Regions from separate parts of the Homo sapiens genome. Here all the other regions are linked to region 3. Evidence: promoter capture Hi-C in 16 types of primary human blood cells and fetal thymus (Javierre and others, 2016). All regions are on one chromosome and are shown on one strand. The core of a region is centred on a gene start or on the middle of the fragment in contact, and the rest is flanking DNA. Distances in the headings are between cores, read along the strand shown. Region 1 holds the start of TIMM9 (translocase of inner mitochondrial membrane 9). Region 2 holds the start of EXOC5 (exocyst complex component 5). Region 3 holds the start of FBXO33 (F-box protein 33). Region 4 overlaps DDHD1-DT (DDHD1 divergent transcript). Region 5 overlaps LRR1 (leucine rich repeat protein 1). Region 6 overlaps ARID4A (AT-rich interaction domain 4A).

Evidence for each region. The method cuts DNA at HindIII sites, captures the fragments that hold promoters and counts their contacts. A CHiCAGO score of 5 or more calls a contact.
Region 1: a contact is called between the fragment with the promoter of TIMM9 here and the fragment with the promoter of FBXO33 in region 3, in 1 of 17 cell types (non-activated CD4 T cells). The highest score is 5.4, in non-activated CD4 T cells.
Region 2: the fragment with the promoter of EXOC5 here is called in contact with the fragment with the promoter of FBXO33 in region 3 in 2 of 17 cell types (non-activated CD4 T cells and total B cells); the score reaches 10.6 in non-activated CD4 T cells.
Region 4: a fragment that was not itself captured here is called in contact with the fragment with the promoter of FBXO33 in region 3 in 1 of 17 cell types (non-activated CD4 T cells); the score reaches 5.8 in non-activated CD4 T cells.
Region 5: a fragment that was not itself captured here is called in contact with the fragment with the promoter of FBXO33 in region 3 in 1 of 17 cell types (non-activated CD4 T cells); the score reaches 5.6 in non-activated CD4 T cells.
Region 6: a fragment that was not itself captured here is called in contact with the fragment with the promoter of FBXO33 in region 3 in 1 of 17 cell types (total B cells); the score reaches 5.5 in total B cells.

Annotation. Positions count from the first base shown.
Region 1 is chr14:58,425,196-58,428,869 of GRCh38, reverse strand. It overlaps TIMM9 (translocase of inner mitochondrial membrane 9), which reads left to right and starts at 1,339. Exons shown (of 6, transcript NM_012460.4): 1 at 1,339-1,478; 2 at 1,628-1,816. It overlaps KIAA0586, which reads right to left and starts at 1,151. Exons shown (of 31, transcript NM_001329943.3): 1 at 407-1,151. The coding sequence starts at 605. RefSeq lists enhancers at 880-1,069, 1,140-1,189, 2,204-3,147. The HindIII fragment of the contact is 11,466 bases long and covers 1-3,674 here.
Region 2 is chr14:57,266,654-57,270,755 of GRCh38, reverse strand. EXOC5 (exocyst complex component 5) reads left to right here and starts at 1,851. Exons shown (of 18, transcript NM_006544.4): 1 at 1,851-2,134. The coding sequence starts at 2,108. AP5M1 (adaptor related protein complex 5 subunit mu 1) reads right to left here and starts at 1,785. Exons shown (of 8, transcript NM_018229.4): 1 at 1,368-1,785. The coding sequence starts at 1,441. RefSeq lists enhancers at 1,621-1,820, 1,468-2,051 and a silencer at 2,361-2,420. The HindIII fragment of the contact is 4,317 bases long and covers 353-4,102 here.
Region 3 is chr14:39,430,040-39,433,961 of GRCh38, reverse strand. FBXO33 (F-box protein 33) reads left to right here and starts at 1,529. Exons shown (of 4, transcript NM_203301.4): 1 at 1,529-2,398. The coding sequence starts at 1,800. It overlaps LOC105370461 (a long non-coding RNA gene), which reads right to left and starts at 1,523. Exons shown (of 8, transcript XR_007064121.1): 1 at 1,443-1,523. RefSeq lists silencers at 931-1,100, 1,841-1,970, 2,411-2,540 and an enhancer at 1,491-1,740. The HindIII fragment of the contact is 7,836 bases long and covers 1-3,922 here.
Region 4 is chr14:53,155,631-53,159,431 of GRCh38, reverse strand. It overlaps DDHD1-DT (DDHD1 divergent transcript), which reads right to left. Exons shown (of 3, transcript NR_110062.1): 2 at 2,859-3,189; 3 at 1,904-2,270. Among named protein-coding and RNA genes, the nearest start is that of DDHD1-DT, 4.2 kb to the right of the region's middle. The HindIII fragment of the contact is 2,163 bases long and covers 1,332-3,494 here.
Region 5 is chr14:49,605,976-49,609,552 of GRCh38, reverse strand. LRR1 (leucine rich repeat protein 1) reads right to left here. Exons shown (of 4, transcript NM_152329.4): 3 at 1,432-2,153. Among named protein-coding and RNA genes, the nearest start is that of LRR1, 8.8 kb to the right of the region's middle. The HindIII fragment of the contact is 276 bases long and covers 1,589-1,864 here.
Region 6 is chr14:58,305,269-58,308,841 of GRCh38, reverse strand. ARID4A (AT-rich interaction domain 4A) reads right to left here. Exons shown (of 24, transcript NM_002892.4): 5 at 2,730-2,820. Among named protein-coding and RNA genes, the nearest start is that of ARID4A, 8.5 kb to the right of the region's middle. The HindIII fragment of the contact is 534 bases long and covers 1,351-1,884 here.

The DNA of each region.
Region 1 (3,674 bases), core at 90-2,589, about 19 Mb before region 3:
TATAGAAGCCATCAATTGGCAGAAGTCCTGCTTTTCCCACTATGAAAAGAAAGTAGTGAATTAGGTAAAAAGCACTACTTTGGGGGAAAACTATAAAAAACACTACGTGGGGGAAAATAAAGCACATTATACAAGTTAAGTGTATCCACCATAAATATAAAAAAAAAAATATGCAAAAGTCAATGCAAAAAAAAAAAAAAAAAGCACAACAGGGGACGTTAAAGTTTCATTCATTCCATCTATTCAAACATTTTATAGGCTTCCTGGCCATTTTCCCGGGAAACAGGGTCAGTTTTCAAACATCTGTACAAACTAGACTTATATCTTACGTTTGGGAATTTAAACAAATAAGGACTAAAGATTTACTAAACTAAAACTGGTTGAAAAACTACATGGAATCACATACCACGTGATGTTCCATTCAAACTAGTCCCCGTTCCAACAGGAAGACGTTTATTTGCAGACAATGCCGGAGGAACACAGGGCAACTCATCTTTCAGCAAAACCAAATGATCTCCATGATTTTGAGAAACTACCTCACGAAGTCTCTTCACTGGCATCTTAATCTTTTTTTTCTTCTCCAAGCTGACCTCAGAGCCTTTCATATTGTTGGTCACAAAACAAGTCCCACACTTAAGGACGGAAAAACTTTCTCTGTTTCCTTAAGACTTCAGAACAAAATTTTCACCTCTTTGCAATAACTGTTTTTAAAATGTCGAACATCCACAAAGCTGAAAATCTAAATTCTGATATTGAATCCAGGATTAGAGCTGACTATAAAGTCATATTTACCCATTAATCCCACTCAGTCTATTAATACACCACGCCAAAATGTGAAAGTGGGGATGACAAGAGAATGGCCACAGGAGCAACAATAACCATAACAGTGCACTCCCCAACCCCAGAGCTGGTAGGGCAAAACCAAACACATGTAGTGGCGGGCTTAAAATTTGTTGAGAAGAGGCAGTCAAGCAAATAAAAGCGAAATGCTATTTTTAAAATAATGACCCACATAAGAAGCGTAATAGCTTTCTTCAGCCACAGAGTCTTACACACCCCTCCAGATGCAATCGTCGGAAACATAAATTCACCCCTACGTATCTCCAGAACGCCCGAGACCCGCACCGTCGTGGGTGTAATCTGACAACAGCGTCAGTTGCCCGCAGGTCAACACCCACTTCCCTTCAAACCCGCCCTTGAGACACAACACGCATGCGCGCCAAGAAACTCACCCAAAACATCCAACCAGAAAGCTAAGCGCTCTCTGGTGCTCTTCCATTCCTCTCCGGGTGGAAACAAACTCCGGACATAACAGGGGTTTATTTATTTATTTATTTTAAGGTAGCACATTGCCGCACAAGACCGCTCTACAGTCTCATCCAAGACTTGAAGAGCTCCCGACTTGTAATACTACTTGTGTTTACCAGGGACTGTTGACACTGCTTCGCTTCCGAAGACCGTTAGGGACGTGGGATTAGGTAAATTAGGCTTCCAAGAAGTTTCGACAGATTCGGGTCATTATTGGAGAGGAAGTCGGGAATAGAAAGCGTTGTCTAAGCAGAAAATAACCGAAGTTAATCCTTAGGAGATTTTAGAATTCGCTGATGGTACCTGCTTTTTCTTCTAGATTTCCTCGCGTTATAACGAATCGGCGTCTAAGGGTTTAAGTGTCACTTGACATTACTGCTCCCACGTGTTCTTTCCCATCTGGCGGCCGCGGCTCCTGTCCAGACCCTGACCCTCCCTCCCAAGGCTCAACCGTCCCCCAACAACCCCCAGCCTTGTACTGATGTCGGATGCGAGAGCCTGTGCTTAAGTATGGTGTCTGTTCTCTGCCGTGAGAATCCGGGGTTCCCGGACGGGGGGTGGCAGGCTACGCTCCAGGAAAGTGGCGGGGTCTCCCGAGGAGGCCGCCGCACGTACCTGGAGCAGTGGGGGGTGCGAAGCGGGACAGCGCTTCGCCGGGTCGGGTGCAGACCTTCCTGGAGATGGTGTCACCTGGGCGAGGGTAGGAACTTTAGGCCCTGAGCCACCCCCAACCCGGATCTGGGGAGTCGGGGTCCTGTTTTGGGACACTGAATTAGACTATAAGGTATTTACGATGTGACCTTGAGCTGCCCGGGGGAAGATCCTCCTTTAAATGAAAATCGTCTTTAGACATAATACCAGGTCTAACACCCCTTCCCTGATCTGCTCATTTCCCAGGATGCGCTACTTAGAGCTTTCCCTTTACGCCTTACTGGAGGCTTTAGAATAATCAAAGCAGAAAATGTAATCCGATCTAAAAGCTAAATAACTAATTTTATTTCTTTTACATCTCGGCAGTCTACCTTCATAGAAGTCTAGACTTAAAATGGACTTTAAAGTCTGAGCGCGGTGGCTCACGCCTGTAATCCCAGCACTTTGGGAGGCCAAGGCGGGCGGATCACGAGATCAGGAGTTCGAGACCAGCCTGGCCAGCAAGGTGAAACCCCGCCTCTACTGAAAATACAAAAAATTAACTGGGCATGGTGGCGCGCGCCTGTAGTCCCAGCTACTCAGGAGGCTGAGGCAAGAGAATTGCTTGAACCCGGCAGGTGGAGGTTGCAGTGAGCTGAGATCGCGCCATTGTGCTCCAGCCTGAGTGACAGATCAAGACTGTCTTAAAAAAAAAAGAAAAAAAAAGACTTTAAGGGCTCAGCGTTAAAGACCCTTTTAATTATTATTTTTTTGTAACTTGCTGAGTTTCTCTAATGAGTTTTGTGTTGTTTTTTGAGACAAAGTCTCACTCTGTGGCACAGGCTGGAGTGCAGTGGCGCGATCTTGGCTCACTGCAACCTCCGCCTCCCAGGTTCAAGCGATTCTTCTGCCTCAGGCCTCCTGAGTAGCTGGATTACAGGCGCCCGCCACCACGCCCAGCTAATTTTTTTTGTATTTTTATTAGAGACGGGGTTTCACCATGTTGGCCAGGTTGGTCTCGAACTCCTGACTTGATTCACCCGCCTCGGCCTACCAAAGTGCTAGTATTACAAGCGTGAGCCACCGCACGTGGCCATTATTTTTTATTTTAGTTACATTTTCTCTTCGTAATTGGGCTCATAGGTGGTACTTGTTTGTTCACAATTTATTGTATATTATGAGTGTACTGAAAGAACTACAATGTCAGAGTCGCCAGAGACCTTGGAGATAGTTTAACTCTTACCTTCTAGGTGAAACTTATGTGAAAGAAACAGTGACCTAAGATCTGAGTGTAGGCACTCTGAATTATTAAAATGACAACTTAATTTGGATCTTACAGCTCTTTGTCATTACTCTTTAGTTCCTTTCCCTCTTTTTTTTTTTTTTTCCAGAGACAGGGCCTTGCTCTGTCATGATCATAGCTCCCTGAAGCCTTCAACTCCTGAGCTCAGGCAATCCTCCTGTCTCAGCCTCCTGAGTAGCTAGGACTACAAGCACTTGCCACCACGCTGGCTAATTTTTTACTTTTTTGTAGAAACTAGGTCTCGCCTTATTGCCCAGGCTTATTTTCTCAGCTCACTGCAACCTCTGCCTCCTGGGTTCAAGTGATTCTTCTGCCTCAGCCTCCCAAATAGCTGGGATTATAGGCACCCGCCACTCTGCCCAGATAATTTTTGTGTTTTTAGTAAAGATGGGGTTTCACCATGTTGGCCAGGCTGGTCTGGAACTCCTGACCG
Region 2 (4,102 bases), core at 602-3,101, about 18 Mb before region 3:
GTTATCTGTCAGTGGGAAGGGAACGGCAGTTAGAAATAGGTAACCAAAGGGAATATAAGTAAAATGAGAGATACTTTGTACGGACTGATGCGCCTGGTAAAACCACGTACTAAAGAATATTATTAATCTCCTGTATTTGAGGTCCAACAACAAATGTTGGGGTTAGTGTCAGCCAGAAATCCTGGGGGGAAATGGTAAACTCCAACTCTGATGCCCTCAGGAACAAAAACTGTTAAGGTTGCAAAGAAGGAATTTTTCATATCCCCATTGCCAACCAATTTTCATTTAAAATTAAAATCTTTTTTTTCTGCCTCAATCTCAATTCTACTATGGTACTACTTCACTATAAGCTTTCTTCAGGGAAGAACGAATTGTGACAAAAAAGAACTATCAATGGCCAGAGAATAAAAGGTGAAATAGACCCACTCGATTGCCACCAACATTTTACAATGAGTTACTGTACAATTCCCTTAACAGAGCTATTTTGATTACACAGGGCAAATTCTAATAGTGGGACCAGATCAACTTAACACAATATATGAAATAGTGAATACATTTTTTTGTGTTTCTATTTTCTTCAACAATTAGGAACTGTAAACTGATGATTTCTACCATTGACACATATTAACAAGATAAAAATAAAAGCCTGGGCGGGGCGCGGTGGCTCCTGCCTGTAATCCCAGCACTTTGAGAGCCAAGGCGGGCGGATCACGAGGTCAGGAGATCAAGACTATCCTGGCTAACACGGTGAAACCCCCTCTCTACCAAAAATACAAAAAATTAGCCGGGCGTGGTGGCGGGTGCCTGTAGTCCCAGCTACTCGGGAGGCTGAGGCAGGAGAACGGCATGAACCCGGGAGGCGGAGCTTGCAGTGAGCGGAGATCGCACCACTGCACTCTAGCCTGGGGAACAGAGCGAGACTCCGTCTCAAAAAAATAAAAACAAAAAAATAAAAGTCTGATATAACTTAGCATGGATTTTTCAGTAGAATAAGTTAAAATGTTCTGGAACGATTTTGTCAATGCATGTTGAAAAATCTGAAAATGTTTAGTGCTCAGTAAATTTTCTACCGTTCCCTTAGTCATCTCCATTTTAATTCTAAGCAGACGGAGGTCATTTTAAAACACAATACTAATAGAAAACATATACCGTAAATAATATGTACCAGTCATCAACTCAATTCTCACAACACTGTAAGGTAGGACTATTAAAATCTCCATTTAACAGACGAAACAGAGGTCTGTTAACTGGCTAGCCCAAGGTCACGCAGCTATTCGTGGCAAACCTGGGCCACGAAGCACCACAAAACTATGCTACTTCATCGATCTTCTGATCCATCATCCCTGAGGATTCAGATTTGCATTTACCTGGAGAATCTCACGGTGCCACAAAGTGGAGTTCCCGGTTCGTGGCTTATGAGCCACACTGCCCGCTGCGCCATGGTTAAGTCAGTAAAGCATTAGCTCATCTCATAATTAAGGTCGCCACCGAGGAACAGCGCAGACCGGCTTTCTCAGACAGACTCTTAACAGAAGCCCTGAGGCTCATCCTGCGCCGCATACCGGTCGCGCTCAGCAGAGAGGTTAGCTTTTTTAGGTGAAGTCACTAACGCTTCTGAGTCGCTCTAGGCCAACACACACCACAAAAAGTTCTAAGAACCCCAACCTATAACCTTGAGAAATTTACCTATACCCTGCAACTCCGGTATTTTCTTCCTCTAAATTCTACTTCCGGAATGGTGGCCCGCAAGGATCAAAGTTCCTCATACACGGTAGCGTCGAGCCTTTTTTCGGTTCTTTCGCCGCTCGTTTTATTCGCCGGCCCCTCCCGACAACCTCCCTGGCGCGCGCAGTTCCACTTCCGGCGTATGAGGCGGTGACAATGGGAGCAGCGCGGGCGGCGCCGGGAGGCAGCTGACAAGCGTTTGCGGCTTCGCTTCATGGCCGCTCTCCCGCCCCTCCTGGGATCTGTGGGGAGCTGGGGAGCCCGCAGCGGCCCGGAGCCGGAGCTGGCGAGCCGAGCGGAGACCTGTGCGCCGCGCCTCTGAGGCGCAGCATGTGAAGCGGAGACGGCATCCAGTGGGGGGCGAGCCTCTCAGCCGGCCGGGATGGCTACCACGGCCGAGCTCTTCGAGGTGGGCCCCGGCGGCTCTACAGGGAGTGGCAGGCCCGGGGTTTGCAGGCAGCTGGGTGGGCGGGCCGAGGAGCGGGCGTTTGCTGGCTGCCCAGGAGGAGCCCTCGGGAGAGAGGTGCGAAACAGAAGGGTTGGGGTGGCAGCTCCGTGTCAGCGCGGGCGGAGCGTGAAATGGGGGAGGGGTGCTTGGGGCCGAGGTGGGCTGGGCGGCCGGTCGGCAGAGAGGGGAAGCCGGGTGTCCCAAGGGAGGAGGGTTGCTTTTGTTTGTGGGGGCAAGAGGGAAAGTCTGGAAGGTTCGGGTGTTGGAAGATGTCTACTCCGGATGAGTAGTGGGAAGGGCTGACTCAGGACGAGGAAAGAGAGCCAGGAGCCTCAGGTTGGGCGAGTCTTGTCGCTGGGGTCCTCGCGGGAATAATAGGAGGAAGCCACTTGAGATCGGGACTCTTGGGGGCTTCTCGTTTTGAGTAATTATTCCATTAGTAAGGTTGCAGGTGGCATTCATAGGACTGCCAGTTTAACCTGACATTTGAAAAGGCTGGGACAATTTTTTTTTTTTTGGACAATAAAGGCCTACTTATCTCTTTCGACTGAAGAGAGATAGACTGAAGGGAGGCAAAATTCAAGTGAACACTTTATTTCATGTAATACATAATAATACACTCGAGGCATTTACGTGTATTATAAAATAAAAAAAGTTTATAAAATAAAACGAACACTTCGTTTCATGTATATAATGCACCTTAAGTGTATTATATGCATTTACATGTATTATAAAATCACCTAACTGCAAGCTAGAGAATCCTTAATATGTAATAGTGAGAATACTAATGTCTTTCCTCGAGCGTTTACAGTATCTAAACCTTAAAATTTAATTTCGTGAAGTCCGTTGTAAGAAGCTGTGATAAAAGTTTGAGATAATAGAATAGGAAAACTCTAATTAGGCTACAAAACAATGACACGTATAAAGCATCTCCTTGTGTGAAAGAAATGAAAACGGATAAGAAAAAGGAAAGAAAGACCCCTTTTTTGTGTGTGTGCTTGTGTTTCACATTGAGTAACAAAAGTGTAATAATTGAGAAGACTGTAATCCACAATAGGGAACTTCTCCATAAGTGAAAATGGTATCCTTTTTCTGCGTAAGATTCAGCAGTTTTTGTGGCTTACAATTTGAATGCCACAGTTTTAATAACAAATGGAAATTTACATTTGTTATTGTTACTATATTTTGCATATCAGTCAGCTTTTGGATAGATAATGCTTTTTTTGAGAGGAGTAATATATGTTATTGTTATAATAAGTTGTAATAAGACAGTAATTTGTGAATGAAGGATTGTAATTACAAGAAAGACTTCAGAGATATTGTATTTTCTCACTTAAGTGTTGGGAGATATGCTACATTAATTTCTGTAATTCCAAAATTGTGCCATCTGTTTATTGACACAAGAACGGGGAGACATTTTTCCTGCTAGGAACTTTTACTGTGTCCCTAGGTACTAAGTAGTGCTGTGGTTCCTTGTTTTATTTTTCACATCTTAAAAAGGGAGAAAACGATGAAGTTGTATGAGATCTTTAATTAAGGTATTTGCCGGCAAGCCAGCTCTTAACTGAAAACTGTTATATATGTTGTCATACAGTTCATAAGACATTATCCTTTGAGTTAATCCTGCTTGACAGTTCCAGTTGTACCTTGGACCATCTTATGTATATTTTTATTTAAATGTTTGACCACATGATTTCAGTAACTTATTTGGAAATATGTTTGATTTTTTTTTTTCCCCTCTCCCTAGCGGGGAAGGGGAGGAGGTGGGGAAATATATATTTTGCTTTCTGGGGTCCTGCTATTAGGTTAAGTAGTATATATATACGTTTTATATATATATATATATACACACACACACATACACATATATATATATAACGTATATATAACATACATATATATAATGTAATTTAGTGACTCTAGTTACAT
Region 3 (3,922 bases), core at 280-2,779:
GTTATACATAGAACTACCCTACGACCCATCACTTTCATTCCTAGGTATCTACCCAAGACAAATTAAAACATACGTCCACATAAAGACTTGCACATGAATGTTCACAGCATTATTCATAACTCGAAACGACCTAAATGTCTGTAAACTGGTAAATGGGTAGTGTTTCATCCTGCCGAACCCACGACTGGGGTCGCCCTCTAAGAGTTCATTAAAATTAATAAGGTATAATTACCTAAAACTCTTGTAAACAGGGGCTCGAATAAGTAACCTATCACAATTGATAAACCACACCATGTTGTTGGCAACCTGATATGTGCAAGGCATTAAACGGAGAGCTTTGCCCTCAAAGGGTTAAGAACATCTAGAATGGGGGTCTCCTCTTTCGTCTTGGGAGCCCCCTCCGTCTGTCTCTGTAGTGGGGAGCTTCTTCCTTCAGCCTTCTTCCTTCTTTCTTGCCTATTAAATTCTCCGCTCCTTAAAACCAAAAAAAAAAAAAAAAGTCCAAAAAGTCTTGGTGTTTACCACAAAAGAACGATGCTATTCCAACATCACAGCCTCCCTAAAGCAACTCTCAATTATTACATAAAGAGGCAGCCTCCCTAAAGCAACCCTCGATTATTACATAAAGTCACTTAATCTTTTCTGACTTCACCACTCTTTGCAACCAGAGTTTACTTTGCAGTAGGCTGTGGTGAAGTTAGGGACATGGTTTGGAAAATCTAAGTTAGGGATACCAGGCAAAAAAAGAAGAAGAAGAAAGAAAAAAAATCAAAGCTCTGTCATTACTGTGAACTTTTCAACGAGAGCCTTAAATCTCAGCACAGGGAAAAGAGACCCTTCCTCAAGCCCTGGAGAAGAGGCTGGTCACAACCTGCGGATCTCAGATCCCTTTGCCAATTTTTTTCTCTCCCTCTGAATCCAAAGGGTGACGCTGTCCTCACTGCTTCCCCACACACCAGCGAGTGCGCGGAAGTCCACCTGCGTGGTTGGACCGAGGGGGCAGGTCCATTCGCGGCCTCCGCCACGCCCCACACCGCCCCTCCCGGCACAGCCCGCCGGGGTTAGCCCGCCCGTCCGCCAGCTCCCTCTCAGCGGCGCAATCTCAGGAATTCTTAACCCTACTCTGGGCAGGTGGGATGGCTGAGAAAGACCCTGCATGCCGCCACTTTGGCTCAGGGTCCTCAGCCCAAACTGAGAAACGTTTTACAAAGAAGCGTGACGACCTTTCGCACTAAACCAGAGTACCGCCACCTCCATCGACCGAGCGCCAAAATTAACCGACTTACAGATGTGACTGGGCGCAGCGGCCACCGTAAGGCGTAAGGGGTGCCAAGTGCCGGTTCCAGTCCCGCCCAGCCCCGCCCCGCCCCGCCCCGCCCAGCCCCGCCCCGCCCCGCGGCCTGCGTGCGTCAGAGATCACGTGCCGCGCCTCCCGTCCCTACAGGCAATCGGGCGCTCCCCTCTTCCGGAAGTCGCGCCGGTGCGCGCCGGACTCCTCCCACCAGCGGCGACGTCAAACTCAGCTCCTACCACTTCTCTGTCTCTGCCGACCGGCGCAGGGAGGGCTGCCTTTTCCTTACAGTACGCCTTGAGGCTTCCGGGCCGCTGAAGTTTACGAGCGAGGGCAGTGCAGTTACTCAGTGTGCCGGCCTCGGACGCACGTGAGTAGAGTTTGAGAAGACAGAGGCTGGCTCCCGGCAGGCCACGCCCGCAGAGGCCTTTCCCCCTCTCCACAACTTGTGTTCTACTTGGTTCCGCCGAGACCCACGACGGTTCCGCCCCCTTCTTCCTAGTCATTGATGTTGTTGTTCTTGTCAGTGCCGCAGCCCCGACCGCCGGGAGCTCGAACCCGAGCCGGGGCCGCCCGGGTGGCGCGGTGGCGGCGGCTGCGGCTGCAGCAGCTGCGACGGCTGCGGGGGCTGCTCCGGGTACTGCGGGGGCGGCCGGGAGCCGGCAGCCGGCGGCGGGGCCGGATGGCTCTGTGCGGGCAGGCGGCGGGCGCTGCGTCGCTGCCCAGCGAGCTGATCGTGCACATCTTCTCTTTTCTGCCGGCGCCCGACCGGCTGCGGGCCTCGGCCTCCTGCTCGCACTGGCGTGAGTGCCTCTTCTATCCGGCCCTGTGGCCCCAGCTCCGCATCTGCCTCCGCGTCTCGCCCGCGGAGCAGCCTCGGCTGGAATTCCTCATGCGCAAGTGCGGCTGGTTCGTGCGAGAGCTGCGTGTTGAATTCGCCGCCGAGAACTATCTGAGCGGCGGTGGCCCAGGGGACGGAGGTGGCGCGGACACCGGGACTGGAGGGGAGGAAGTCGAGGCCCTGCAGCTCTCAGCTCGTTGGCTGGAAGTGCTGCGCACCTACTTGGAGCTGGTGCTTTGCGTGCTGGTCAGCATCCGGAACAACAGGTAGGCTTGCCCTGAGCCCCGCCCCGCCCGGTAACGGGGGGTCGCTCCGTCCCCGCACCCCGACACAGATTCTGTGCATAATACGTGCCCGGCCAACTTCAGTGTTGCCTTCCTCAGTGACGGAGAGTGTTGGTTCTAACTAGGCGGTTTCCTTGAGCGGAAAGGCATAACGGGACTCATCACGATACTTTATAAACAGTGGTGGACGGGGTGTTTAACAGACACCACTTCTGGCGCCTTCCAGGCACTCATTCATCCTCTTGGTGGCCGTGGGATGGAGCTGACAGGCGCTGTCACTTTTCATTTTATATATGGGAGCGTTAAGACTGGGAGGGTGAGGCCTGTGGGTGAGCCTTGGAAGAAACAAAACATACACATAACACGATTTTCTGACTCTGAATCTGTTAGAAATAGTTCATGGTGAGGGAAGGAGTAGGTACTCATAGGACGCTGCCTAAAAGAAATTTTGTAACAGCCATTTTCTTACCAGAAATAGTTTCGGCTAACTGAACAAGGCCCGAAGAGGAGGAGGAGTGTTTGTTAAAGGGATTGGGGAAGAAGTTGATCTTCAGGGTTGAAAGTCCCTCCCCATACACCACCACACTCAACTTCTCCCCAGTAGTTCACCTAAAAGTAACAGTCGGGCGGAGGAGGCGGGCGGGCAGCGAGGGAGTTGGCCAGGGTCTGCAGAGGGTAAGCACATAACTGTTCTGGTTTTGCATCAGGACTTCACTGTAATTCCAGAACTAACGCCTTATATTCTGACCCAGTATCCCTCCCAATCATCATTTTTCTCCATCGCCACCTCCAAAACCCTATTAATTTAGATCTTCTTTATATGGATATTCTAAAGAACCTTACAGTAAAGCTCTTATTAGAAGAAAGTTTAGACGTTCACAAAAGGAGCACCTTACATAGTAAAAATACTTCAGCAGTTTCACATTCACTGTGTTGTTTGAGCCTCTCAGTGGCACTATGAGGCAGGGTAATGATAAATAACCCTGTTTTACAGAAAGGAAACTGACCCTTTATAGGATCAAGTGATTTGCACATTGCTGTACGGCATTGTTTTTCTCCGAAAGCGTGTCCTTTTGCAGTAAATATACTGAACATTATGTTGAACAAGGTTGAGAGCAGTCCCTGGTTTAATGCTAGGAGATATATATAGATATAAGGTTATATATATATATGTATGCGCCATTAATCTGTGTCTTAATTTAGAAGTCAAGAGATAAGTTATAGCTCCAAGTTGTATCTGGGATATGGCTCCATTATTCCAGTTGCCTGTGCGTTTCCACAGCTTTTCGCAAGACATTCTATTTCCTTACTTTGGTTTTATCTGGCAGGAGAGGCCATTGAAGCTAAAAACAGATTAGGTTAGAGACTTTCTCAGAGTTGAATGTATGGCTAGAGGACCAACTGACCCAAAAGTTGCAAAGTTTCAGTCAGTGAGCACTTACTAATGAGACCAAGGTTGAGGGTGAATTCAATGAGTGAGTACCAATTAGATTTTTCTGTACTGAG
Region 4 (3,801 bases), core at 1,164-3,663, about 14 Mb before region 3:
GCCATTTCTGTTGTTTTAAACCATGCAGTGCAGCCCTAGGAAATGAATACACTGTTCCTCTATATCTTCTAAAGGTTTATAATTAATACCTGTCTCTCTCTCTCTCCTTCTTTTTTTTTTTTTTTTTTTTTTTGAGATGAGATATCAGTCTCACCCAGGCTGTGGCATGATCTCGGCTCACTGCAACCTTTGCCTCCCGGGTTCAAGCAATCCTCCCACCTCAGCCTCCTGAGCACCTGGGACTATAGGCACACCACCACGCCTGGGAAATTTTTGTTTTTGTTTTTTGTTTTGTTTTCGGTAGAGACAAGGTTTTGTCATGTTGCCCAGGCTGGTCACGAACTTCTAGGCTCCAGTGATCCTCCTGCCTCAGCCTCCCAAAGTGCTGGGATTACAGGCATGATCCACCTGGCCCAGAGGTTTATAATTTCTAACCTGAGAAGTACAGTCATATGAGTGATCAAAGTTTATAATTGTTAACCTCAGAAGCAGAGTAATATGAATAATCAAATGAAGGACTATTTGTGAGTTCTTACAGATGATTAAGAATTAGTATGAATCTGATGTTCTAAACTTTAGAAGTGAAGGAGTCACAAATGCAGGGCCATTGTTACTAATTTCTCATATTTAAAATATATGTTGCTGAATCTTGAAGATAAAATTTCTGAAGAATTTTGCTTTTCTACCATGCCATTTACATTTATTAATGGTATTATCCTAATGGCTATCTAGTATGGTTCAAGTAACCCAATGGGAGACCCACAAAAAGAATTTGGGAGCTTGTGAGTCTAGAATCATATATATGTATATATAATGATTATTATATGTATGATTATTATATATATATATATATTTTTTTTTTTTTTGAGATGGAGTTTCGCTCTTGTTGCCCAGGCTGGAGTGCAGTAGCATGATCTCGGCTCACTGCAACCTCTGCCTCCTGGGTTCATGTGATTCTCCTGCCTCAGTCTCCCGAGCAGCTGGGATTACAAGCACGCACCACCGCGACCAGTTAATTTTGTATTTTTAGTAGAGATGGGGTTTCACCATGTTGGGCAGGCTGGTCTCGAACTCCTGACCTTGTGATCCACCCGCCTTGGCCTCCCAAAGTGCTGGGATTACAGGCGTGAGCCACCGTACCCGGCCTAGAATCATATTTTATTCAAGCTGAAACTTTAAATGAGTTGCTGACTTATGATGTAAGGATAAACATACTTTTTTAAGCAGCAGTTGCAAAAACAGTAAATCAATTCTGCTGTTCAGTCTTTTAAATGCTCAGCAAATTACTGACAGTTACATTAGTGGAAATAAATCCTTATTGGAACAAAGCTTCTCTTTTCTTTCCTTTTTAACTTATATATGACAATACACATACGCAAGGTGCTGCCTCTAAGTCTTGCTCAGCACCATATTATGATTATCAATTACTTTTTATTGAAGGCTCATATGAGTCTGTGAACAAATATGTACTTTCAACTTACCTGTGGAGGTAGGAAAAAATCCTAGAGCGCAGAAGTCATTAAATACATCTACAATGGGTGCATAATGTGGGCCTCACAGCAGCCAATAGCTATGGCCCAACTCACTTTTCTATAATGAAAGGGCAGGAAGATGGCCAAATCTGTCTGATATAAACAAGCTGATGAGGATTTTGTGGCTGCCTCCACAGAGTATGCATCAATGTTGTATTGATTTATACTTTCTTTCATTTGAATATATACCTTCACCACCACTGACCTTTATTTCCAAAAGGAATAGAAAACATTTTTATAGGGTTTTGGTAAGTATGGTTTTGTGGATAGGCCTCTTATAAATCTTTAAATAAATGCATTTCATAATTCTAAATTTTAAGTGTAATTTCAGTTAAAAATAAAAACACAATAGCACTAGACAATAAATATTTGTTGAATGAATAAATGGAAGGATTAATGACTTTATTCATCATGAATCCCTACGTTATTTCTGCCCACCTTGCTTCCTTTGGATTGTAATTTGATTTTGTTTATTGATCTGTCTGTAGGGAGAGAATGACCCCATGGTAGTGATGCAGCTATAGTGGCATTACAATTATATTCCTCATAGGAATTTAAAAGTTAGCATTTTGGTTTTATTTATAGACACCACTAGACTGTGAATGCTTCACTGTAGAGCCTAGCACAGTGCCTGAAATGTCCAGCGAATGTTCCCTGCTTCAGTCTAGGTTGTTGTTTCATTTGGTCAGGGCATCAGATAAAACACTCTCATCTTTAAAAACCAGATAAGTAGTAATCCTAAAAATAAAAAGTGAAATAAAATTTAAGTTGTGGTGGATGGCTTATCGAACACGAGATACAGCAGATGGGGGCATGGTTATGTCTGCCCTCTTTCTTTCATTCTAAATAGGGGTCTTCCATCATACACTTTGGATGAAGCTATTTCAAGTGCAGGTGTGGGATGTTGGCTCAGGATAAATTACTTGGCATCAAGCATTCCCTAATGTTACAAACGTGAAGACAGGTTAAAATGAACAACATGGTGGCTTGTGCCTGTAATACTAGCTACTGGGGAGGCTGCAGCAGGAGGATTACTTGAGGCCAGGAGTTCAAGGCTGCAGTGAGCTAGGATTGGCCTACTATACTTCACCCGGGCAACAGCAAGACCCTATCTCTAAAATAATAAAATGAATAACAGGGACAAACTTTAAGAAAAGAAGAAAAGGGAAAGACAGCACACAATTGCACGAAAACATCTTTGAGACGCGGGAGGAGATGGCCGTTGTTACCAGATAGCTCTTGCCATATGCCTAATGGGGACAGGAAGGTGGTAGGATACACAGACGAGCTGTTTTAGTCTTTTGTAGTACAAACCAACTGGCTTACCTTTTTTTTTTTCTGCACACCAATAACTCCGTCAGGCTTGATTCCACATGCACCTGTTTCTTGCGGCAGCATGGCCCAGTAATGCCAGAAGTCTGAATCAATCACACTTATTTGCCTTATGTGAAAGAGGCCTTGTCTTGCGTAATTATTAAAATACAATGGAATGCTTTACATAGAGCCATGGAAGTTCAGATAATGCTGTGTCCATTGTACACACTAATGATGTAGAGTGGTGAGGAGCCACCTGACACCTATTCTGGCAGGTGGGGACTAGAATAGATGCCCCAACCCATCTCCCTCTGGTCAGGATCATATTACCTGAGAAGATGATCTAGAAAACAAAAGGAGAGCAGGAACAGGAGGCATTAGATAAAACATGACTTTTTAAAGCAGAAAAGTTGAGAAAAACAACATCATGACCTTTGCCTTGCTATGATGGCTAGGGAGTAAAAAGGAAATAAACACATGCAGTCACATGAAGTTAGATATTGTGCTCTCAAATATCTTCTGAGCACTGTCAGCCTGGGACCCAGTATATGGGTCTGCCATAGCCCAAGCTCACTTCCAAGGGGCAGAAGCAATCTCAGCCCACAAATGTTGATTGACATCTCCCCTCAACAAGGTCTAGACCAAGCTTGCCCAACCTGCAGCCCATGGGCCATATGCAGCCCAGGATGGCTTTGAATGTGGCCCAACACAAATTCATAAACTTTCTTAAAACAGTACGAGATTTTTTCGTGATTTTTTAAGCTCATCAGCTATCATCAGTGTTAGTGTATTTTATGTGTGACCCAAGACAATTCTTCTTCTTCCGATGTGGCCCAGGAAAGCCAAAAGATTACACACACCTGGCTCTAGACCAAGATAACCAGGTCAGCAGAGAATCTAGGATTCCCTTCTTCTGCCACCTGGGTTGTGTTGAGAATCAACATTTCCTTCAAAA
Region 5 (3,577 bases), core at 477-2,976, about 10 Mb before region 3:
GGTGCCTGCAGTTTCAGCTACTTAGGAGGCTGAAGCAGGAGAATCGCTCGAACTCGGGAAGCAGAGGTTGCAGTGAGCCGAGATGGCGCCACTGCACTCCAGCCTGGGTGACACAGTGAGACTCTGTCTCAAACAAATAAATAAAATGAAAATACAAAAATGAGCCAGGCATGGCGGTGGGCGCCTGTAATCCCAGCTACTCAGGAGGCTGAGGCAGAAGAGTTGCTTGAGTCTGGGAGGCAGAAGTTGCAGTGAGCTGAGATTGGACCACTGCACTCGAGCCTGGGCAACAGAGTGAGACCCTGTCTCAAAAAAAAAAAAAAAAAAAAAAAAAAGGGCCAGGTGTGGTGGCTCAAGCCTGTAATTCCAGCACTTTGGGAGGCCAAGACGGGCGGATCACGAGGTCAGGAGATCGAGACCATCCTGGCTAACACGGTGAAACCCCGTCTCTACTAAAAATACAAAAAAAAAATTAGCCAGGCGTGTTGGCGGGCGCCTGTAGTCCCAGCTACTCAGTAGGCTGAGGCACGAGAATGGCGTGAACCTGGAAGGCGGAGCTTGCAGTGAGCCGAGATCGCTTCGCACCACTGCACTCCAGCCTGGGCGACAGAGTGAGACTCCATCTCAAAAAAAAAAAAAAAAAAAAAAAAAAAGAGGTTAAAGTCATACAAAGTGGTGAAGCCAGGAATCAAATCCAAGTCTGACTCCAAAGACCACCCTTCATCACTATGCGAACTCTCTAATTTTAGAGTACATCAAAATCACTTGGAAGACTCACTAAGACACAGCTGGACCCCACTCTCAGTTTCTGATTCAGTAGGTCTGGAATGTTAGAACCTGCATCTCTAGGAAGTTCCTAGGTAATGCAGATCCTGCTGGTCAGGGGAGCACACTTTGAGAAACAATGCCATTCATTCATTTAACTACTTATTGAGTGCTTAATATATGCTAGGAGCAGGGTATACATGGTTTAGATCCTAGGGAAATAGTGGAGAATAAAACAACATCCATGTGCTGATGGATCTTACATTCTAGTGGGGAAAACTGACAGTAAACAAAAAAAAAAGTTTAAAAATATATATAACAGGCAATGAGTCCTATGACCAAAAAAAAAAAAAAAAAAAAAAAAAAAAAAAAAAAAAAAAATCAAGCAATGTAAGGAGGGAAGGAATAAAATTTAGATAGAATGGACAGGTAAGACCTTTCTGGGATGACACTTCGGCAGAAAACTGAATGAAGTGAGGGAGTGAGCAATGAGACTTCCTGGAGAAAAATCATTCTAAGCAGAGGTAAGGAACAAGAAGACCATTATAGCAAAGGGTCAGACTGTGCATAGCACTGTAAGCAATGTTAGACTTTATTACTCTGAGTTTGATAGGAATATTAGAATGCTATCAAAGACACCACATTACATGACTATTAAAATCTTACCTATTATGTAATATGGTTCGTGCAGAAGATTCCAATAAAGTTAATGGTGCTTGCAGCTTTATTACTGGAAGGACTTTTGGTTGTTCAAAAGTATTTCCAAAAAGATCCAAGTATTCAAGGGATAAATTTCTAAATTCACTAGGCAAAAATGGAAGCTTATTTCGAGCTGCTGACAAAAAGCGAAGGTTTATTAGTTGTCCTATCTTGCAAGGAAATTGAATCAATTCATTATCGTCAAGTTTTAAATTCTTAAGTTCCTGGAGCTGGCAAAACTGCACAGGGAGTGCCTTGATTTTGTTCTTGCTGAGGTCCAAACTCCGAAGTGACTTCTGGAGTGTAGAATGACACAAGGCTACACTAAATGACTCCAAGTGATTGTCATTCAGGTTAAGTTCTTGAAGGTGTATGAGGTCTCCAATTGTAGCTGGAAGCTTTTTTATATGGTTGTGACTCAAGTCTAATTTCCTAAGGCTTTTTAAGCAAAGCATACGCATATCAACTCGGACAAGCCCACAGTAAGAAGTCTGAAGATGTTCCAAGGAATATGGAAAATTCTTACTTAGAGGATAGTCTTTTTTGGATGTGATAACCATTTTAGTTTTAAAGTTTTCAAATTCTGAAGTCTTCACTGGTGTGAGCGTTGAAACTGGTGTATCAACATTACAGCCTCTATGAGCCAGTCTCATAGCTGAAAGGAAACCTTTTAAACTGCTGGAAATGGCCTGAATAAATAAAAGTTGTAGAATTATAAATTCCACTGGAGATAATACATACATGCTAGTTCTTCCCATAACAAATTCTATGGCATTACTTATGAATGTGATACAATGATTTACTGAAATTGACTGTAAAACTTTTTTTTAGTACTTTATTTTGACTAAATTTCAAGTTTAAAAGTTTTTGAAAAAAATTACGTGGAGGGACACATTCTAAATAAAACTGTTCAAAGGGAAGTCATGCCAACACTTTGGGAGGCTGAGGTGGGAGGATCACCTGAGCCTAGGAAGTAGAGGCTGCAGTAAGCCATGATATCACTGCCCTCCAGCCTGGGCAACAGAGTGAGACTGTCTCAAAAAAAAAAAAAAATAACAAAAATAAAGGGAAATCATAAGAGTATAAAATAAGATAGGAAATGATTGACTATTCCACTTAAGATTTGAGTTTAGGTGGGGCGCAGTGGCTCACGCCTGTAATCCCAGCACTTTGGGAGGCCGAGGCAGGTGGATCACTTGAGGTCAGGAGTTTGAGACCAGCCTGGCCAACATGGTGAAGCCCTGTTTCTACTAAAAATACAAAAATTAGCTGGGCGTGGTAGTGCATGCCTGTAATCCCAGCTACTTTGGAGGCTGAGCAAGGAGAATCGCTTGAACCCGGGAGGCGGAGGTTGCAGTGAGCCGAGATTGTGCCACTGCACTCCAGGCTGGGCAACAGAGCAAGACTCTATCTGAAAAATTAAAAAAAAAAAAAAAAAATTTGAGTTTAAGGCCAGGTGTAGTGACTCACGCCTATAATCCCATAACATTGGGAGGCCAAGGCAGGCGGATTACTTGAGGTCAGGAGTTTCAGACCAGCCTGGCCAACATGGTGAAACCCCTTCTCTACTAATAATACAAAAATTAGCTGGGCAATGTGGCGCATGCCTGTAATCCCAGCTAGTCAGGAAGCTGAGGCAGGAGAATTGCTTGAACCTGGGAGGCAGAGGTTGCAGTGAGCCGAGATCGCGCCACTGCACTCCAGCCTGGGCGACACAAGTGAAACTCGGTCTCAAAACAAAACAAAACAAACAAACAAAAAAGGCTGGGACTGGTGGCTCACGCCTATAATCCTAGCACTTTGGGAGGCCAAGGTGGGTGGATCACCTGAGGTTAGGAGTTCAAGGCCAGCTTGGCCAACATGGTGAAACCCCGTCTCTACTAAAAATATAAAAATTAGTGGGGCATGGCGGCAGGCGCCTGTAATCCCAGCTGCTTGGTAGGCTGAGGCAGGAGAGTTGCTTGAAACTGGGAGGCAGAGGTTGCAGTAAGCCAAGATCGCAAGACTGCACGGCAGCCTGGGCGACAGAGCGACTCCATATAAAAAAAAAAAAAAGAAAAAAAAAAAAGCTAATTTTTGTTGGAACATGGAAGCTATGTAGAGCAAAAGATTG
Region 6 (3,573 bases), core at 368-2,867, about 19 Mb before region 3:
AAGGTAACACACGTCATAAACACTCTGAATAATTTTCTGACTATACCCATGTAATACTTTGCTAGGAACTAGAAATCAAAAAAAATTCCAGAAAAGAGCAATTACACCTAATAGGTAGGTAGTAGGTACTCACTGAAAGAAAAATACAGGATGTTCATGACCCAAGAGGTTTTACATTTCATTGTACTGTTTTTTTTAAACCAACTGGTAACTCAGGTCATTATACTCTGATCATTCTTTATGTGATCCACTTCCTTCAATATCTAAACGTTCTTTAGAGCAGTGCTATCTTGAGTTTTCTGAATGGAACAGTGCCTTTCAAAATCTTTTTATGAATTTCCTTCATGCACGTAAGTGCAAAAATCTTTAATATTTTGAATTTTTCTCCCAAATAAATCTGTTTTTCCCTGTTTTTATAAGTGTGAACTACCTGCATCAGAATCACTGACATGCTTATTAAAACATTCTTGTACTGCCATCCCCAGGCCTACTAATTGGAGAGGCTTGGGGTCCTCAAATCCTCATTTTTCTAAGCAAGCACCAAGTGATTCTTATGTCCACTAATGCTTGATACCTCAATTATATGCAATTAAGATTCTAAAGCTCTTTGAGAACAAGAATTATACAATTTCTTCTGTAATTATCCAACACAGAAAATCACCATAGAGAATGCTTAGCAGTGACTAGTTTTTAGAAACACTAAAACGCTACTCATGTAGAGGACAAAGGTTGCTATTCATAATTGAATAACTACTCTGGGATAAAGAAACCCAAAATGAGAAAACCTGAAAAGTAATCCTTCTATAGAGCATGCGCATTTTATCAGTAAAGCTTCAAAGTGAGTACAACCTTTATAGTGAGTTAAAATATAAGGTGCAATATAAATATCTGAATATGCATCATATATTTTCCGGTGATTCTACACACACCTGTAATTTTTATCAGGTCTTAGTTTGATAAAGCAAAGATGTATTTACTTAATCTCTAAGAGTTAACATTAAGCTTAGTTTTTATTTGTTTTGAGACGCAGTTTTGCTCTTGTTGCCCAGGCTGGAGTGCAATGGCACAATCTAGGCTTACTGCAACCTCCGCCTCCCAGATTCAAGCGATTCTCCTGCCTCAGCCTACTGAGTAGCTGGGATTACAGACGCCCACCACCACACCCAGCTAATTTTTGTATTTTTAGTAGAGACAAGGTTTCGCCATGTTGGCCAGGCTGGTCTTGAACTCTTGACCTCAGGTGATCCGCCCACCTCGCCCCCCTAAAGTGCTGGGATTACAGGTTAGAGCCACTGCATCTGGCCACTTAGTTTTTAAAATTTAACAACTATCAGTAGCCACAACTAAGCTTCCTAAAAATATGTAGTTCAGAATAATAGCACCACTGTGAACCAACACTAAATTCTAGTAAGTCCAAGAAGCATCAAAGAGGTTTGAAAAAAGTACTTACACACAGCAAATTGGTACTACTAATAGAAGGTACAGGGTAAGACAGAGAAATTTTTAACCAAAGCATAGTTCTTCACAACACTGAGCATCAACTGGATGTGAATGATTTTTACCCAAAGCAACAAATCAAGTAAACTAAAAGTAAACCTAAATGGTCATTCTTTTATTTCTACAAGAAAACCACAAAATAATTATACCACTTAAACCAAGAAATAAGTATAAAAACCAACAATGCTATAGATTGGATGTTATCCACAGGATTGTGCAGTTTGAAAGTACTGAGAGGAGATTTGGAAATGTTACTTAATGCTATTCTCATCAACATAATGACAGCAACTATTTAAGTACTACTTTAAGGTTTTAACTTACAAGTATTATGACACTTGTTGCTTCTCACTATTAATACAATAAAGTTATCTAAAGCCAGTATAAGCTTATGCATGGAATGTTAAGAATGCATTCATGCATTCATATTAGGAGCATCTATATTTTTCTTAAAAGCTGTTTTCTTTTTGAGACCAAATCTCACTCTGTCGCCCAGGCTGGAGTGCAGTGGCATGATCTGGGCTCATTGCAACCTCCGCCTCCCAGGTTCAAGCGATTCTCCTGCCTCAGCCTCCAGAGTAGCTGGGATTACAGGCATGCACCACTAATACCAGGCTAATTTGTGTATTTTCAGTAGAGACGGGGTTTCACCATGTTGGCCAGGCTGGTCTCGAACTTCTGACCTCAAGTGATCCACCCGCCTCAGCTTTCCAAAATGCTAGGATTACAGGCATGAGCCAACATGCCCGACCTTGAAAGCTGTTAATATGAGCACCCACACTGTATCAAAAATCAAAAACTAAGTTAACAATCACCTATTCTTGAATCTACCATGGTCAGGATTTTTTAAATCTGTAAATTGTCTGGCAACATCTACATTACCCTTGTATAAAATATGTAGCAATACAGTAACGATCGCAACTATGCAATTTTAATTGTAATTATAGAAAAAGTGATCACAATCATGTGATCTAACTTTCTTGAAAAGAAACATCAAAGTAACCTAAAATAGAAGTACATTTTTGGATGAAATAGACAAAAGTGGCCAACTTACTGTAAGAGATAATTATTTTTGTTACCTACAGGGCATTCTTAGAATTTTAGTCAGCTATATCCAGTAAACTGACAGGAAATAATATATATTTCTCCACCAACACAATGATTCAGTGTATCCACAAAACACAGATACATGCAACCTCCAAATCAAATCTGTGTTAAATTACTTAATTACTTACCCACGGTATACCAACTAGCATCTGTCAACTTGCTGATAATAGCTTCCTGAAAAGATCCATCAGATGTCCTTGTTTCAACAATAGCTCCAACCTAAAATGTGAAATCCCAATTTCCTTACCAAATTTAAACAAATAAACCAAATCACTCCCACCAACTATATAATCTAGCTAAGAAAAATAAACACCATACTTATGATAATTCTATCTTACACTGTCTGAGATCTTTATCATTCATAGTACTTATCTATTTATTATGCAATTTGAGCTCCAAAACACTTTGACAAAAGTTAGGTAGCTATTATTACCCCTACTTTACACACTGAAAATTGCCGTTCAGAAAGAGAAAATAATATGCAGAGTCCAGCATGACAGCCCAGTCTCTTAAATCTTACTTTAGAGCTTTTCCACTATATCACATTGCCTTCAAGAAAATTAAATCGAAGAACTGTAAAATTATAAGACAACCAAAATAGCATCCATTTTCTTTCACAGAAATAGTGAATATTGGATTCAGCATTTGTATTTAAGGTACCTTTTAGATAAAGGTTCACCTGGAGAGATAGGGATGGACCAGTTGACCTTCTTTCAGTTTCCAGACCTTTGTATATCAGATATTAACCAAAGTGGTACTCTGATATAACAGATTTATTACATAAACAAATGGCCAGAAATGCATGGAAAACATAATCTAGGTATTCATTAAATTGAATTAGGAAGTGAACATAGTTTACTTGGTAAATTAGAACAACCAAAGATTGATGGTTATGATACTCAACTTAGAAGGCTAAACATCACCTCAGATACAGCAACAATGTGAAAAACAAAGCCAGGTATCCAGTTCAAG